Regions from separate parts of the Homo sapiens genome. Here region 2 is linked to region 1. The links are contacts of gene promoters, found by promoter capture Hi-C in blood cells and fetal thymus (Javierre and others, 2016). All regions are on one chromosome and are shown on one strand. Each heading gives the region's core, a stretch centred on a gene start or on the middle of the fragment in contact. The rest is flanking DNA. Distances are from core to core; before and after follow the strand shown. Region 1 overlaps ARHGEF1 (Rho guanine nucleotide exchange factor 1). Region 2 holds the start of PRR19 (proline rich 19).

What was found. The method cuts DNA at HindIII sites, captures the fragments that hold promoters and counts their contacts. A CHiCAGO score of 5 or more calls a contact.
Region 2: the fragment with the promoter of PRR19 here is called in contact with a fragment that was not itself captured in region 1 in 1 of 17 cell types (total B cells); the score reaches 5.6 in total B cells.

Annotation. Positions count from the first base shown.
Region 1 is chr19:41,897,544-41,900,964 of GRCh38, reverse strand. It overlaps ARHGEF1 (Rho guanine nucleotide exchange factor 1), which reads right to left. Exons shown (of 29, transcript NM_004706.4): 14 at 2,378-2,523. Among named protein-coding and RNA genes, the nearest start is that of ARHGEF1, 16 kb to the right of the region's middle. RefSeq lists an enhancer at 2,459-2,959. The HindIII fragment of the contact is 645 bases long and covers 1,463-2,107 here.
Region 2 is chr19:42,300,882-42,304,452 of GRCh38, reverse strand. It overlaps PRR19 (proline rich 19), which reads right to left and starts at 2,321. Exons shown (of 3, transcript NM_199285.3): 1 at 1,950-2,321. PAFAH1B3 (platelet activating factor acetylhydrolase 1b catalytic subunit 3) reads left to right here and starts at 1,829. Exons shown (of 5, transcript NM_002573.4): 1 at 1,829-2,221; 2 at 2,414-2,503. The coding sequence starts at 2,144. RefSeq lists a silencer at 1,715-1,934 and enhancers at 1,488-2,142, 2,095-2,224, 2,305-2,354. The HindIII fragment of the contact is 26,667 bases long and covers 1-3,571 here.

The sequences.
Region 1 (3,421 bases), core at 536-3,035:
ACAAAAATTAGCCAGGAGTGGTGGTGGGCACCTGTAGTTCCAGCTACTTGGGAGGCTGAGGCAGGACAATCGCTTGAACCTGGGAGGTGGAGGTTGCAGTGAGCGGAGATCACGCCACTGCACTCTAGCCTAGGCGACAGAGCGAGATCGTCTCAAAAAAAAAAAAAAAAAAAAAAAACCAGTGAGGATTCCTCAACCCACTGCCTTTCCCTTTTCGCTGTGGCAGCTGGCCAGAGTGACCAATGGTCCTCATTTGCCTGCCTGGGCTTTCAGTGATAAAACTGTGAATATCCTGAGCAAATGGGGACAAGCTAGTCATCCCACCTGCCAGCAAGCTTGCAGCTGTGTTTAGTGTCTAACCATCAAGCCACATTATACAGTGGTTGACAGCCTCAGATCCAGGGACCCCCACATCCCCGGAGGGCATATGTGTGAGTTTCAGGGGCCCTAGAAGTCCCCTGAGACTAAAAGCACGATTTTGTACATTATGCATATTCTTTCTGGGGAAAGAAATTGCTATCCTGTCCAACGTGATAGTCACCAGCCGTGTACAACTCTTTACATTTTCGTTAATTGCAATGAAATTTTAAGTCAGTGCTCAGTTGTATTTAGTGCTTTTTTTTTGAGACACAGTCTTGCTCTGTCACCTAGATTGAAGTGTGGTGGAGTGATCTGGGTTCATTGCAACCTCCATCTCCTGCTTCCTGGGTTCAAGCAATTCTCCTGGCTTACTCTCTCGAGTATCTGGGATTACAGGCATGCGCCACTATGCTTGGCTAATTTTTGTATGTTTAGTAGAGATGGGGTTTCACCATGTTGGCCAGGCTAGTCTCGAACTCCTGACCTCAAGTGATCTGCCCACCTCGGCTTCCCAAAGTGCTGGGATCACAGGCATGAGCCACTGTGCCTGGCCTAGTGCATTTCAAGTGCTCACCAGCCATAGGTGGCCGATGGTCCCCATGGTGAGCAGTACAAATAAAGCACATTTCCATCTTCCAGAAAGTCCTAATGGGTAGCACATGGCTCATGTTTTTTTTTTTTTTTATCATGTCCTTAGAAGGATCTGTGACCCAAAAAGTACTCAACTACTCCCCTAAAATTTTTGAATAAGTATCTTTTTCACTATGAAGTAATCTGTAAATAAGCTTTCAGTCAAGTCCCAAACCTTTCTCTTGGGCTAGGCACAGTGGCTCACGCCTGTAATCCCAGCACTTTGGGAGGCTGAGGCGGGCGTTCGAGACCAGCCTGACCAACATGGAGAAACCCCGTCTCTACTAAAAATACAAAATTAGCCGGGCGTGGTGGCACATGCCTGTAATCCCAGCTACTCAGGAGGCTGAGGCAGGAGAATCACTTGAACCTGGGAGGCGTAGGTTGTGGTGAGCCGAGATTGTGCCATTGCACTCCAGCCTGGGCAACAAGAGCAAAACTCTGTCTTAAAAAAAAAAAAAAAAAAAAAGCTTTCTCTTTTTGCCACCAGCCTCCCTAGCCACCACACAATTAGCAAAGGAAAAAAGGAAAAAGACAAAAATGATACACTCATCATCTCTCCACGCAGAAGCAAGCACTGCTAATATACTGATCATTCTCCCAAACTTTCCCCTGTGGGGATCTTTTCTCCCCTAAGCAATTAAGATCAAACTAGTAACAACAATCTCATTAAAATGCTCTTCCTTGACTGGGCCTGGTGGCTCACACTTGTAATCCCAAGACTTTGGGAGGCTGAGGTAGGAGGATCACTTGAGCCCAAGGGTTCGAGACCAGCCTGGCCAACATGGCGAAACCCCATCTCTACAAAGAATACAAAAATTAGCCAGGCATGGTGGTACATGCCTGTTCAGCTACTCGGGAGGCTGAGGTGGGAGGATCAGTTGAGCCTGGGAGGGTAAGGCTGCAGTGAGCCGTGATTGTGCCACTGCACTCCAGCCTGAGAGACCAACTGAGACTCTGCCTCAAATAAAAATTTAAAAAAATAAATAAAATAAAATGCTCTTCCTCTGTGCCCAGCACTATGCTAAACATTTCACACAAATCATCTCATCTTCATGACAATATCTGAGGTAGGAACTATTAATGCCCACATTTCACAAGCAAGGAAATAAAAGCTTGCACCAGAAATGCAGTGTTCTCAACATCAGCACTGTATTGCACTACTAGAAATGTTTGGAAATGTCCCTTCCACAGTGGCATTCACATTCCATCAAAATGCTCTGTGTTGAAACAATCTGAACTTGGAACAAGAGGGAATTTGAAGCTGCCTTCAAGTTCTCCCGATGGTAAATGACACCAAGATGAACATCTCTCTGCGCCTGTCTTTGCCTTTGCCAGAGCTGGACTGTGTCCTTGGCCACAGTGGGGTGATGGGGGCAGTACTCACCGCTGATGACCTCCTGCCGCTTCACCTGGCTCTTGGGCAGGCTGTGCAGGGTGTCTGGGGGGACGAGTTCCCGCCAGCCGGGAGGCTCTTCTGGTTCAAGCTCCAGTCCCGACCGCCCCGGCTCCCCCTCATCTCCAGGCTCGGGGCTGTGGACAGAGGCCTTGTTAGGGCCCCAGCTTGGGCCATCCCAAGAAGCAGCCTTCAGCCTCTTAGAGCGTTCAACCCCGGTCAGTGGCCTTGGCATTCGATGCCCGCAGGGTGGCCCGTGCAGCAGACCAGGTCTCTAGATCGGACCACACTAGAGTTCCCAGATCTCTAGAAGCATTCTACCCCCTCCTCCTCCAAGGTCTGTGACCACAGTTGGCCTCAATGACCTCGGTCTCCAACGCCCATTCCTCTGTGACTCTGACAACAATCCCTCCCTGATTCTCCAGGCTGCCTTAGTGGATGGGGGAAGGGAGAGGGTTGACATACGTGGCTCGTCGGGCAGGGCCAAGCACTGCCGTGGCGGAACTGGGGTCCATGTCCACGTCGCTCCGGGAGCGGCCCCCACCCCGGCCCTTAGCCCCGAGGCTGCCCCGGGAAGGCCGGCGGCGGTCACTCACCCGCAGGCTCTCTGAGCGCCCCAGACGCCCTGATAGCCTGGACCCCGAGGCCAAGGACAGAGTCAGGCAGATGCCGGGGACAGAGACAAGGAGAGACCAAGACAAGAACAGAGACGAAGAGAAACCAGGACAGGGACAGAGACGGGGAGAGACCAGGGCAGGGACAGAGGTGGGGAGAGGCCAGGGCAGGGACAGAAATTGGGGAGAGACGAGGACAGGGACAGAGACGGGGAGAGACCAGGACAGGGACAGAGACAGGGAGAGACCAGGACCGGGGCAAGGGTGACCAGGACAGGGATCAAACATGCAACAGAAGAGAGGAGAGAGTCAGAGGAGTGGTGGGATTTTAGGGGCACTGGGGTAGTGGGGGGTCTTGGGGGAGGGGGGATACTGAAATTTGATGGGGGAAGGGATGGGGAACCCAGGATGGAGCATAGGA
Region 2 (3,571 bases), core at 1,072-3,571, 400 kb before region 1:
TAGACAGGGTCTCACTGTGTTACCCAGGCTGGTCTCAAACTTCTGGGTTCAAGCGATCCTCGCACCTCAGCCTCCCCAGTAGCTGGGACTACAGGCATGCATCACTGCACCTGGCTCCCTCAGACTTTATTTGTTTGTTTATTTTTGTAATTAAGACAGAGTCTCGCTGTGTCACCCAAGCTGGGCCACTGTTGCCCAGGCTGGGCTGCAGTGGCGCGATCTCAGCTCACTGCAACCTCTGCCTCCCAGACTCAAGCAATTGTCCTGCCTCAGCCTTCCCAAGTAGCTGGGACTACGGGCGTGTGCTGCCATGCCTAGCTAATTTTTTTTTTTTTTTTGTATATTTAGTAGACACGTGGTTTCGCCATGTTGGCCAGGCTGGTTGACCTCAAGTGATCCGACCATGTCAGCCTCCCAAAGTGCTGGGATTACAGGCATGAGCCTCCATGCTGGCCTCCCTCAGACTTTAAAATCAAGCTATTCCACGATATTCCCCAAACCTAATAAGAAAGTGATTACCTGTGTCTTTTCTTTCTGCTTGCCCATTCTTCATTATCTTTCAGACCCAGCTGAGATACTACTCCTAGGAAACCCATAGTCCTCAGAGTCCTTCTCCTCTTCCTCCCCAGAGGTCCCTGTCTCTCCCTCAAACACAACTTTGACACCCCTACACCTCTGTGTCTGGATCTGTCTCCCTAAACACATTGGGACAAGGTCAGGAGCTGACCCACTCATTTACTACTCATTCAGCAAGCACTTGTGGAATAACCACTGTGTGCCCGGCCCAGTTCCAGGAAAGTGGATTGAAAACATAAACACAATGAATAACACTCATCTCTGTCTCAGTATCAATCCACCTCGAAGGAATGAATACATGGGAAGGTCCCACCTGGAGTGAGGCTACAAGAACATGACCAGGACGTTTAGCAGGGAGTGAGCCCCCCACCTGGTCCCAGAGAAGAGGGAGATCTGAGAAGACACTGAGGTCTGAGATTAATTTGGGGCAGCGTTGGGGGAGAGGCGCGACCCTAGGTGGCCTTGGCTATGGATGTAGGTTTCAGAGCTCAGACATACCCAGTTGGCCTGTGGGTTTAGAGAGAGTGTAGAGGCTGCAGATCTGCAAGATGATCTGCCGGAGGGACGCCAGACTGGACCTGAGCCCTGGAGGCGTCTCTAATTTCCTTTCTCTTTCTGCACCTTCTTCTACCCTCCAAGCAGGTCCTATGGTGTCTTGAATGCAAAGATATGTAGTTTATATGTTATGCCACGCGCGCGCACACACACACGGTGTTTTGAGTAGGGGTCCTGTGATGTCTTGAATGCAAAGATATGTACTTTAGATTTCAACACACACACACACACACACACACACACACACACACACACACCCACGGTGTTTTGAGTAGGGGAAGCCCACGAGTAGATAGGCTCACTAAAGCCCTGGCGCGGCCTTAGAGTGGCTCCTTAGAAGGGAGCCTCGAATTTTCACATTTTGTCATCTTCCTTTTCTGTCCCCCACATCAGTAGAAAATAGGAGCGTCCCCCCCAGCCAGGTGCATTCGAGCCACCCCTTCAAGGGAATATAAGAATGGACTCGTCCACTCGCTCCCCTCCCCCCACCACGTGAATGGGTCACCCCCCCCCCCGCAACAGTAGGTGGTCCCTTCCGCACATTTCACTCTGTACAGCAAATGGTTTCTTCCCATTTGCTAGACAGAGGGCTAGATTTTCCCCGCCCACTCTCGACTCTTCAGGTAGTTCGCCCCTCCCCGTGACCGGTGGGTGGTTTCTCCCTCCTCCCCGCCTCGGGAGCTGGATGGTCTCGCCTCTCCCTCCCCCCACCCCGTGCCGGGTGCGCGGCCTGGGAGTCAGCGGCCCGAGCGGGAAGCGCCGGGCGAGCCCACTGTGCGGCCGTCGTGGGGGAAGCGAAGGTTCCTGATTCCACCTACCTCCTAAGTGAAGGCTTCCGTCCCTGGAGAGGAGGCGGCGCCCTGTATCGGCCTTCGTCCTCCGCGGGTGTGCTAGCGTTGGGACGGTCCTTTGTTGCCGCGAGGGGTAGGAGTGGGCGTGGCGGAGCCAGCTCCGTTCGGAACACTCCCGGGCCGACCCGACTCGCTCATCCTGCAGGAGCTGCGGCGCCAAGATGAGTGGAGAGGAGAACCCAGCCAGCAAGCCCACGCCGGTGCAGGACGTACAGGGCGACGGGCGCTGGATGTCCCTGGTGAGCGTTCCCACCTGGGATATTGAGGAGTCCGGGGGCGCGGGGGGTGGCTCAGGAGAACGGCTGGTTCGTGCCACTCTCACTACCTGATTGGGAAACTGAGGGCAGTTGAGGAGGCGCTGCCTAAGGGAGCAGGGCGGGGCGGGCCCTGGAGCGTGCATGCCATTGACTCCCTCTCGCGCGCTCCCGCAGCACCATCGGTTCGTGGCTGACAGCAAAGATAAGGAACCCGAAGTCGTCTTCATCGGGGACTCCTTGGTCCAGCTCATGCACCAGTGCGAGGTGAGGGCAGTCCCTCTCCCCCTGCCCCATCCAGCCCTGTGTCCATGCTGACACATCTGGACCAGAACCCAGGCCAGGTGAGGTATTATGAGAGTACCCAGATTGGCCTCAGGCAGCCCGAGGCTCTGAGAATCTTGGTGTAAGGTGCAACATTCTATTGAGAAAGAAATGTATGCCTTGGTTTTATCAGATTGGATTTGTGTATAATGTACTAAGACCTAAAATGAGGCTTTCCTGCCATAGGCTTGCCTAAAGTGAGGCTCTTTCTTGTTTGCTTTAAGTAGTGCGCAGCCCTGTTGGGTTTACACAAAGCTATAGTCACTTTACAGGAAGCGAAGGGCAACTCTAATGGCACTCCACAAAGAGGACTCAATCATAATAATATCTTTCCACAAAGCATGTCCAACTGTAATGGGTTTCATCAAAATAAGTTTCAACTGTAATGCCATTGATTCAATGCATGGCTCAAGCAGACTGGATTTTCATGAAGTGAGTCTTGCTTCTATGGGGCTTGGTTTGTTTTGTTGGTTGGTTGGTTGGTTGGTTGGTTTTTGAGACAGGGTCTTGCTCTGTCACCCAGGCTGGCGTGCAGTGGTATGATCTCTGTTCACTGCAACCTCTGCCTCCTGGGCTCAAGTGATCCTCCCACCTTAGTCTCCGAGTAGCTGGGACTACAGGTGCACATCACCATGCACCTGGCTAATTTTTGTAATTTTTGTAGAGATGGGGTTTTGCCCTGTTGCGCAGGTTGGTCTTGAACTCCTGGGCTCAAGCAGTCCGCCCACCTCAGCATGAGCAACAGAGCCTGGGGCTTGGTTTAAAGTGAGAGACTCTAGGCAGGGTGTGGTGGCTTACGCCTGTAATCCCAGCACTTTGGGAGGCCAAGGCAGGCGGATGACCTGAGGCCAGGAGTTCGAGACCACCCTGGCCAACATGGCGAAATCCTGTCTCTACTAAAAATACAAAAATTAGCTGGGCATGGTGGCACATGCCTATAGTCCCAGCTACTTGGCAGGCTGAGGCAGGAGAATCGCCAGAACCTGGGAAGCAGAGATTGCAATGAGCCGA